Regions from separate parts of the Homo sapiens genome. Here all the other regions are linked to region 1. The links are contacts of gene promoters, found by promoter capture Hi-C in blood cells and fetal thymus (Javierre and others, 2016). All regions are on one chromosome and are shown on one strand. Each heading gives the region's core, a stretch centred on a gene start or on the middle of the fragment in contact. The rest is flanking DNA. Distances are from core to core; before and after follow the strand shown.

Region 1 (3,241 bases), core at 235-2,734:
ACAGCAGGGAGGCTGACGTGGCTGGAGTGGAGTCTTCCCCACATAAGAGGCACCTGATAGCAAGAGGAGTTACATCTGGAGAGAAAGCCCCCTCACTCATTGTGCTGGCCTCAGGGATGGCTTCCTAGAGGAGGTGGCACCTGAGCTCTCTTCTGAGCACTGAGCAGGATTTCAGGATGAGGCGAGGATGGAAGTTTGCACTGTGCATATAGGAGAGTCATTTCCTGGCTGGGACTCCGGGCTTGGTTTGGGGGTGGGGAGAGCTTGGTGGACAGAGCCCAGGAGGCCCCCAAAGCCAGGGGGAGGTTGTGAGCAGGGGAGTGCCTCGGTTAGGTGAGGTTTAAAACGACTCCCATGGCTGCTGTGAGGACTGACGGTGGGAGACCGAGGAAGAGGCGAAGGGTCCCCAGAGTGTGTGCGCCTGGGACGCAGTGGGGGGTCAATTTGTATGTACTGGAGGAAAGAGGGCAGGGCTTGGGGAGGCCAGCGCCACTTCCCTGGGATCCTCCAGCGCGCACAGGCTGTGTGCCCCTCCCACACTCCTGTGCCCGCCCTGCGGACACCACCAAGGCCCGGTCCTGTGGCCTGTGACACAGCCTTCTCTGCACAGCCCTGCAACGCCAAGACTTGAGCACACCCCCTCCCCTGACAGGCACACGCCCGTGTCCGCGTGACCCGCCCTCACACACCACTCCATCCTGTCCTGCACCCCCCACGCAGACACAGGCACACTCCCGCGTCCACGTGACACACGCACACCCGCCTCCAAACAGCACACGCAGGTCCCTGCGCACGTGGACACCCCCCCAGCCACCAGCCCTGCGCCTCCCGGGCCCCGAAGCCGCAGCGCCCGCCTCTGCCGCCCCCTCTCGCCCCAGCCAAGGCAGGACCCTGCGCAGCCTGAGCCGCGCGCCGCCGCCGCCCCATTCATCTCCCACCCCGCCCCCGGCTCCTGCAGGAAGACGCTCCGGCGGGCCGTGGGAGGAGCGCTCCGCGGAGAACCGCACGTGGGTGCCCCGGGCCGGGCCCACTCCGCACAGACGTGGCCTCCACCAGGAGCCGGGCGCGGGGGACAGTGCACCGGGGATGGATGCGGTCCGCAGACAGAAGCGGGGAAGAACGCAGACGGCGGGGCACCCGCGGCGATGCGGTCCCGGCGGCCGGCGCAGACCCGAGCAGACTCCGCGAGGCACCCCGCAGACCCGGCCCCGCAGACAGAAGGGGAAGGATCCCCGCCCTGACCAGATCCCAGCTCCCTCGTAGACGCGGCCTGGCAGACCCCCCCCGCCTCTCCCTTGCAGGCTCGGGGCAGGTGTTAAGGCGTTCGTCCTCCTGCTCCTCGCCCGCGTCCCCGCCCCGCCGATCCCTACCTGGGCGCCGGGCGACAGTGTCCGCGGCCCGGCGGGCGGCCCCACTCGCTCCTGCTGCGCGCCCCGCCCCGCCCCGCCCCGCCCCACCGCCTCGCTGGGGCCCAGATCGCCGAGCTCAGCCCGCGGGCGCCGCGGCTCCGGGCAGCGCTCGCTGCCCCGCCCACCGCCGCGCCCGGCCGGCGCTCATTGGTCGGAGCGAACGGCCCCGCCAGCGCCGCCCAATCGGAGCCCGGGACTCCCGCCCCCTCCTGGACTAAGGGACCGCGGTGGGCGGCGCGGTAGGGGCCCTCCCTCCCCTGCGGCGGGGCCGACCTCGCCACGCCCCCGGCGTCCTGGGGTCCCCGAAGTCCCTCCCGGCCGCGGCGTGGGCCCTTCTCCTGGGCCTGCAGGGGACCGTGCTTCCCCGCCAAACCCTTTGCGCCCCCATCCCGGCCTGCAGGAGCCAGAGCGCCCCTCCCTCCCGGGCGAGGCGCGGTGCGTGCGAGGGAGGGGCGAGGCCCGGGGAGGAAGGCCTTGAATGGCAGGCCCAGGAGTGTAGCTTCTGCGGGGCGGGGGCAGAGAGGCCGAGAGGTGGCTTAGCACAGAGTGAAGTGCTTGCTCGGTGAGCCGGCGACAGGAATGGCCTAGCGAGGGCCGAGGGAGTAGAGGGAACTCAGCAGGACAGTGAGGTGACCTTCGCTGTGGCTGTTCCTGGGGACTCTGCCGCCACCTCTTCCCCTAACGCCTCCGCGTGTGAATCCTCTGGCACCACCACTTGCCCCATATCCTTCCCCCAAATCTAACCTCCTGCGTCCCTGTCTCGAAGTGGAGCCAGGAGCCTGGGAGTCACCTGCTGCCTCCCTGTTTCCTGCTCCAACCAGTCCATCTCCAGGCCCTGCCATACTGCCTCTTAACTATCCCTGGAATCGGCCCACTCCTCTCCACCCCACTTCCCCTCCCTTAGCTCAGGCTACCACCATCTTGTCCCTGATTGCTGCAGCAGCCTCCTCCCTGGCCTCCAGCCCCATCCAGTCTCACCTCCTACTAGCCTTTCTCTCCCTGGCACCCAGAGCAAGTTTTCAGGAACACAAGTCCACCGAGAGGCATTTTCTATGGCTCACCGTGAGAATAGGTCTAATCAAGCCCTGTATAGCCTTACTCCCAGCCACCTGCCTGTTTAACGCCTACTCGTCTTTCAGGGTTCAATTCAATCCTACTTCTGCCTGGAAACCTTCTCCATGACCTCCCCACTTCCAGCATGGGTTAGTGGCCCCACCCAGGTACTTCCTTGTACCTGGCATCTGTTTACCTGCTGGTTCCTCATTGGGACTGGGAGCTCCTGGATGGCAAGCACTGTGCCTGATTCGTCCAGCACACAGCCTGTCGCATGGCACAGGTGCTCAGTGGATGTTGTTGAATGAATAATTCCAGCAACTTGAGTGTGGCTTTTGACCTCATGGTTCAGGATACCAGCTAGAGCTCCAGCAATCACATAACGCATTCCAGGCAGTGGAGTGGAGAAAAGGATGAAGAAGAGGGCAGAGGGTCTGCACCAGCTCTCTTTTCAGGAAAGTTCCCAGAAGTTGCCACGTGGCACTTTCACATACACCGCTTGAGCTTACTTAACATGACCAGACCCAGCTGCAAGAGAAAGCTGGGAAATGCAGCTTCCATTCTGGGCAGCCACATGCCCAACCAAGAACCAAGGACTGAATTGCTACCGGGAGAACAGATATCCGGAACAACTAGTGGACTCCACCATTGAGAGGGTGGATAGATTGAGGGGCAGAGCTCGACTGTATGCCAGGTGCTGTTTACAGGTCTTTCCTCAACCCTACTAAAAGCTATTATTGTCCGGGTGCAGTAGCTCATGCCGGTAATCCCAGCCCTTT
Region 2 (3,241 bases), core at 499-2,998, 200 kb after region 1:
TTAAAAGCAGGAATGGGAGAAGGGGGGTTGGGGCAATGGCTAAAGACTGCAGGCTGTCCACAATTCAGGCATAGATAGATCATTACCCAGCCATTGTGAAGATGTGTGCCCCTGGCCACAAAAGGGACTGAGTAACATGCTATGAACAAATTAACATACACATCTTCAGATATGCTACTAGAAAGCAATGAAGGCTTATGGCCACTGAGATGGATTAGTGGCGCCTTTTCTATAAAGACAAGCAAGCACAGTTCACCAATGAGCATGAATACATTCTTATTAACTACAAAGATTTTTGTTCTGTAGATCTTTGTTCTACAAAGATTTTTTACCTTCTTACCTGCTTTTTACAAATTGCCTGAGCTCCTGAAGCTTCCATTTGTCATATTTTTCAAACCTTTTGAAGTGTTCTTCCGCACAAAATTTATCTGAAGATGAGTTATAGGCAAACACCAACCCACACTGGGCACCAATGCCACCACGTCGAACCTGGAAACAGAGATTAGGATGAAGTCTATCAAAGGGGCAAAAGTTCTGTGGCCGTTTTGTTTCCAGCATGGTTAAATTCAAACAGGTTAAAACAAAACGAGACCAATGAAAAATATTTCAAACATATTAAGCCCTCAAAAAATAAGAAAGCTGTTTCCCAAGAAATGTTCCTTAACTTTCTCAATCCTTATATTCTCACCATTTCAAAGACTTTACAGTCTATCCATCTTTGTGTCCCTGCCCTCTGCTACAGGCCTGACACAGAGTAAATCATCATTAAATGTTCAATGAATAACCAATGACATGGTCAGCCATAGGTCTGACTTTAAAAAAAAAAACCAAAACACCAATGACGTGGACTTCTGAAATGTAATAAAAGGTAATATTCAATAATAACCTAATTGTACATGGAAAAGTAACTACAACAGTGTAATGGATTGTTTATAACACAAAGACTAAATGCCTGAGGGGATGAATAGCTCATCCTCATCCTCTGTATGATTATTTCACATTGCATGCCTGTATCAAAACACCTCATGTACCCCACAAATATATATACCTACTATGTACCCATAAAAATTGAAAACAAAAGTAGTAACATTGCTTAAAGAAGGTAGCACGAAAATTACCATAATTCTTATCTGTGTAACTTGGAAGGCAGATTCAGTTCCGGTAGAAAAAATAGTGCTGGCTCTGGTTTTTCCAGTTTCCGTAAGAAAACCTGAAAAAAGGGAAAACTCAAGTTAGGGAACTAACCCATTTTTATAGCCCTAAGAACTAAGATCAACAAAAACAAACCATATCCTTTGAGTCATGGGGGGTAACTGGTCTGATATCTTCACGAAAATTAGAGAAAAATGTCCTCTTTGGACAGAGGCAACCCCGATGATAAAGCCCCAGGTAAGCAGAGAACTGACCAGGTTCAACTTTCCCAGGGCACAATCCCCTCCACCTCACAGGCAGCCCTGCTCTGAGGTAACAATAAGAAAATAAATGTTTAGGCCGGGCACAGTGGCTCACGTCTGTAATCCCAGCACTTTGGGAGGCCGAGGCGGGTGGATCACGAGATCAGGAGACGGAGACCATCCTGGCTAACACGGAGAAACCCCGTCTCTACTAAAAATACAAAAAATTATCCAGGTGTGGTGGCGGGCGCCTGTAGTCCCACCTACTCGGGAGGCTGAGACAGGAGAATGGCGTGAACCCGGGAGGCGGAGCTTGGAGATTGTGCCACTGCACTCCAGCCTGGGCAACAGAGTGAAACTCCGTCTCAAAAAAAAAAAAGAAAAAGAAAAAGAAAAAGAAAAGAAATGTTTATAAAACATTTAAGCCAAAGCGACAAAAGACTGGACAATCAATCATCTTCCTGAGCCACACCTACAACCATGGCTGATGGCTGCCTGGGCTGATAAAGCCTACTGGCTTAGTGGCTGAGAAAGGGATTAGTTAGCTTCTACAACACTTTGTCAGGAAAGGTTATGAAAGGCTTTGAAATGGGAAAAAAAAAAAAAAAAAAAAAAAAGAATCACTGGGTGTCCTAGCCAACATACCCTTTCGGTCGTCTCTGCCTTTTATGGTCTCTAAACTATTTTACAATTCTGTAAGTTGTAGAACACTGGTAGTGATGCACATGATTCTTGTCCACAGAACTAAACACTGTGTTCTGTGGAAATGTTGCTGATTATTCCTTATGGATACTGACCAACATTCTATCTATTTGTAAATTAATTTTAGCATTCTTGTTAGTCTACATGTATTTTATGAATTCTCCTTAGAACTGTTTGTAACATCTTACTGGTTCCCTCATTAATTAATGAGCTAAATAAAAAGTCTGGGCCAGGCACAGTAGCTCATGCCTGTAATCCCAGCACTTTGGGAGGCTGAGGCCAGTGGATCACTTGAGCCTCAAAACCAGCCTGGGCAGCACAGTGAGACCCCATTTCTACCAAAAAAAAAAAAAAAAAAAGCAAAAATCAAGGTGGGTGTGGTGGCTCACACCTATAATCCCAGCACTTTGGGAGGCTGAGGCAGGCAGTTCACTTAAGGTCAGGAGTTCGAGACGAGCCTGGCCAACATGGTGAAAACCCCATCTTTACTAAAAACACAAAATTCGCCGGGCGTGGTGGCACACACCTGTAATCCCAGCTACTCAGGAGGATGAGACAGGAGAATCGCTTGAACCCGGGAGGCGGAGGATGCAGTAAGCTGAGATCTCACCATTGCACTCCAGCCGGCCTGGGTGACAGAGTGAGACTCCAACTCAAAAAAAAAAAAAAAAAAAAATCAGCTGGGCACGGTGGTGCACACCTGCAATCCTAGCTACTTGGGAGGCCAGGGTGGGAGGATCGCTTGAGCCTGGGAGGTGGAGGTTGCAGTGAGCTATCATCACAACACTTCACTCCAGTCTGGGCAGTAGAGTGAGACCCTGTCTCAAATGAATGAATGAATGAATAAATAAATTAAAGTAAATAAATTAAAAGTATGAATGTGTTCACTTATATTTGTATGACAGTCACTATTTTCCTTTTTTGATTGTTGGTAATTATCCTTTAACAACTCATGAAAAAGTCTTCTGCTAGACCCAAGGTTGCCTTTCTCTTTCAAACGTCTCTAAATGATATAACTCAGCAATAAATAAGCTTTTTTTTCTGGGACTCTGAATTTTCTTAACAATTCTGCCTATCAAAATGACAAGACTAAAACCAATTTCATGCTTCCTGTTTCATTACATGGAGTTCAAGCCAACAAAAAT
Region 3 (3,241 bases), core at 464-2,963, 140 kb after region 1:
GTAGACAGAGACAGAAAGGCAACTCAAACATGGAGACAAGAAAGAATTCTTAGGCATAAGCCCAGCCCCCTTTGATTGTGCCTCTGATTTCAACAAGCACGCAAGGATAGGGATCTTCTCATCTCTAAGTCCAAAGAGTCTGCCACAGGCTGGCACAGAATTGGTTTAAGTCCTTGCTGGATGAGGCCATGTTTTTACAGCCCCCTTTGTCCTAATCAGTTGAGGGACATGAAGATTAGAAATAAGGTCAAGGTGAATGCCAAAATGAAAGACAATTTTCTTTGAAGTTCTTTGTAATCTGATATATTACAGTCACCTATTATTCAAAGCCAACTACTGGCTATAAATGAATCAAATGTTTAACCGTTAAAAATGCAAGTTGAATAAACCATCCCATAATCTTGACAATACTTCAATACTACAAAAGCAAGGTGTACAGGCAAAGGAAAAAGCTTCCAAAGAGATCTATGCCTATATATCCGGAAGCCACAGAGGCTTTGGTGTGTATAGTGAAGACTGGAAGGGGTGACCAGGCCCTCAGGCCTTCAGAGTGTGGTACCTGGGGGAAGCCAACCAGCACGAGCAGGGTGAAGATGTTGGTGTGCTTCAGCTGGAATGGCAGCTGCTTGATGCAGTGGTCTGTGAAGGTGGCAATGACATCACGCCACAGTGGGGCACTGTTGAGTGACCGCAGGATCTCTGCCATGGAGCACGCCCAGTCCAAGCCCACCCGGCTGGAAGGCAAGAGCTCCATTAGGGGCAGTACACAGGGCTCCAAACTCAACTCGTTAGAGCTCACTACACTCCAAGGCAGACCCAGAAGCCTTCAAAGAGCCATTCATTAACTAGCTTAAAAACTACCAGAATAATGCTTTTCGTATAATGGTGAGTAAAAGAGCAAACAAAATCAAGACTTGTTACTTACATACTCACCCTACGGCTGTGTTTCCAAAAATATCTATAAAAATCACCTGTGTGTGTGCACATGCACACTCATATTCAAACACAGAAGAAAATGTAGTGAGACAGCACCAGATGTATTAAAATGGTGCAAGTCAGGGTGACTTTTTTCCTTCTTTTATTATTATTATTTTTTTGAGACGGAGTCTTGCTCTGTCGTCCAGGCTGGGGTGTAATGGCGCGATCTCTGCTGACCGTAACCTCCGCCTCCTGAGTTCAAGTGATTCTCCTGCCTCAGCTTCCGGAGTAGCTGGGATTACAGGCACACGCCACCATGTCCGGCTAATTTTCTTTGTATTTTTAGTAGAGACAGGGTTTCACTATGTTGGCCAGGCTGGTCTCGAACTCCTGACCTCGTGATCCACCAGCCTCAGCCTCCCAAAGTGCTGGGATTACAGATGTGAGCCACCGTGCCCAGCTTATTCCTTCATTTCTGTTTTCCAAATTTGGTGTTGTGGTTATGTTACTTTTACAACGAAAACAGATTTATTTGCTTCAACCTCAAGGCCCACACTTACCGCTCATTAAAAACAGAATATGCCTCATTAGAGAGTTGAATCAGCAGCCAGTGTCGAGACTGCTCAGCTGTTTTAACGTTGGTGTTAAGCACAGTTTTAATGTGGGTTGACAGCATTGCTCATGAACCTAATTCTATTTCCACAAAACTCTCAGACAACACAACTGTAGCACACCGAAATTAATCAACAGCCAGACCTTCAACTTAAACAAATAAACACCAAGGTGGGATAGAGGGCAGGTGGTTAGAGGAGCGAGGACCAAGGCTACCTGTCCAGACACACAGCTCCCAGGCTAAAGAGCAGGTGGGTGGTTTTCCAGCCATCTGGCACAATGGAACTGTCCCCTGCAGCAAACAGGTTGTGTTTGGCTGAGAGGACTTTGATCACTGCGGCGTCTACCTCTGCTGGCAAAAGACGGATAATTAACTGGCCGAGAAGACCCAGGGTGAGATGGTAGGTTTCATTCAGGTGGCCTGCGTTTGAGATGACAACCTGAAACATGAGTGGAAGGACGTGCTCCAGGTCTATCAGGGGAACCGTGGGGCCCTGCCAAGAGAGGGAGAGAAATCTGTTCAGTACAAAATCCACATAACCAAACTTGCTAAATATTATATCTCCCTCCTACCTTATTTACAGCTGGCCTAGTGCTAACGGAATCATGCTTGTAGCTTTCATAAATGCCATATGTATAATCACTTACAAAATAAACATCCTCAGCTCTCATCTTACAATCCTACTTCTAATATTTCTTTACCCTGAAAAAGAAACTTAAAATACTTGGTTTCCCCCTCACCTTTCAAAATGTCCATTGTAAAATAATTTAAATAATTCAGAAACACGCAAAAGTTAAAGCTCCCCTAAATCCCCTCCCTGCAACCATGGCCAGGAGATAACAACTGTTAAGTGTGATGAATAGTCTTTCAACCTTTTTCTATGCATATTTATTTACACATGATATATGTAAAATAGGCCAGGCATAGTGACTCACACCTGTAATCCCAGCACTCTGGGAGGCCAAGGCGGGAGAGTCACTCAAGCCCAGGAGTTCAAGACCAGCCTGGGCAACATAGTGAGACCCTGTATCTACAAAAAATACAAAAAATTAGCCAGGCATAGTGGTACGTGCCTGTAGTCCCAGCTACTTGGGAGGCTGAGGTGAGAGGATTGCTTGAGCCCAGGAGGTGGAGGCTGCAGTGAGCCATGGTCATGCCAACTGCACTCCTGCCTGGGTGACAGAGTGAGACTCCGTCTCAAAAAACAAACAACATGTCTGTGTGTGTATATATATATATTTGTGTATGTATGTATATGTAAAATAAATTTAAAATTTTAAATAGTTGTTTTTCTTTCTTTAAATAGTGTCTTGCAACTTATTAATACTTTGTTTCCAGTTCTTCATTATTATAAAAACCATTCAGCTAAACGGCCTGGTACAAACATTTCTATACTTATACCATTTGTTATTTTCCACAGGAAAAAAATGCACAAAACCGAAGAAAGCTTTTACAATGTCTGAGTTGTTATCCTCAGTGTGACTCAAGAGGGCACTATATCCATAGTATGAAAACAAAGCAATCAAAGAACAAAAAGTTCTTGGAAATAAAAAGTGATTCTCAAGAAGGCGTCTTTCTGACATGGCAGCCTGGGAGGGGTGTCACAGTCCAAGAACTCAGAAGGCATCTAGGCAGGGGGTTGGTCTGGTGGAGGCCACATGGTGTCAGAACCCAAGCAGGGTATGGAATTTCCATGGAGAAGGTCTGGCA

Evidence for each region. The method cuts DNA at HindIII sites, captures the fragments that hold promoters and counts their contacts. A CHiCAGO score of 5 or more calls a contact.
Region 2: a fragment that was not itself captured here is called in contact with the fragment with the promoter of CAMKK1 in region 1 in 1 of 17 cell types (megakaryocytes); the score reaches 6.2 in megakaryocytes.
Region 3: a contact is called between a fragment that was not itself captured here and the fragment with the promoter of CAMKK1 in region 1, in 4 of 17 cell types (megakaryocytes, erythroblasts, M0 macrophages and 1 more). The highest score is 6.5, in megakaryocytes.

Annotation. Positions count from the first base shown.
Region 1 is chr17:3,891,569-3,894,809 of GRCh38, forward strand. CAMKK1 (calcium/calmodulin dependent protein kinase kinase 1) reads right to left here and starts at 1,485. Exons shown (of 16, transcript NM_032294.3): 1 at 1,371-1,485. RefSeq lists silencers at 792-1,041, 1,182-1,361, 1,392-1,931. The HindIII fragment of the contact is 22,194 bases long and covers 1-3,241 here.
Region 2 is chr17:4,095,491-4,098,731 of GRCh38, forward strand. ZZEF1 (zinc finger ZZ-type and EF-hand domain containing 1) reads right to left here. Exons shown (of 55, transcript NM_015113.4): 10 at 1,119-1,210; 11 at 341-489. Among named protein-coding and RNA genes, the nearest start is that of ZZEF1, 46 kb to the right of the region's middle. The HindIII fragment of the contact is 2,756 bases long and covers 371-3,126 here.
Region 3 is chr17:4,032,269-4,035,509 of GRCh38, forward strand. It overlaps ZZEF1 (zinc finger ZZ-type and EF-hand domain containing 1), which reads right to left. Exons shown (of 55, transcript NM_015113.4): 40 at 1,747-2,024; 41 at 560-734. Among named protein-coding and RNA genes, the nearest start is that of LINC01975, 57 kb to the left of the region's middle. The HindIII fragment of the contact is 2,526 bases long and covers 451-2,976 here.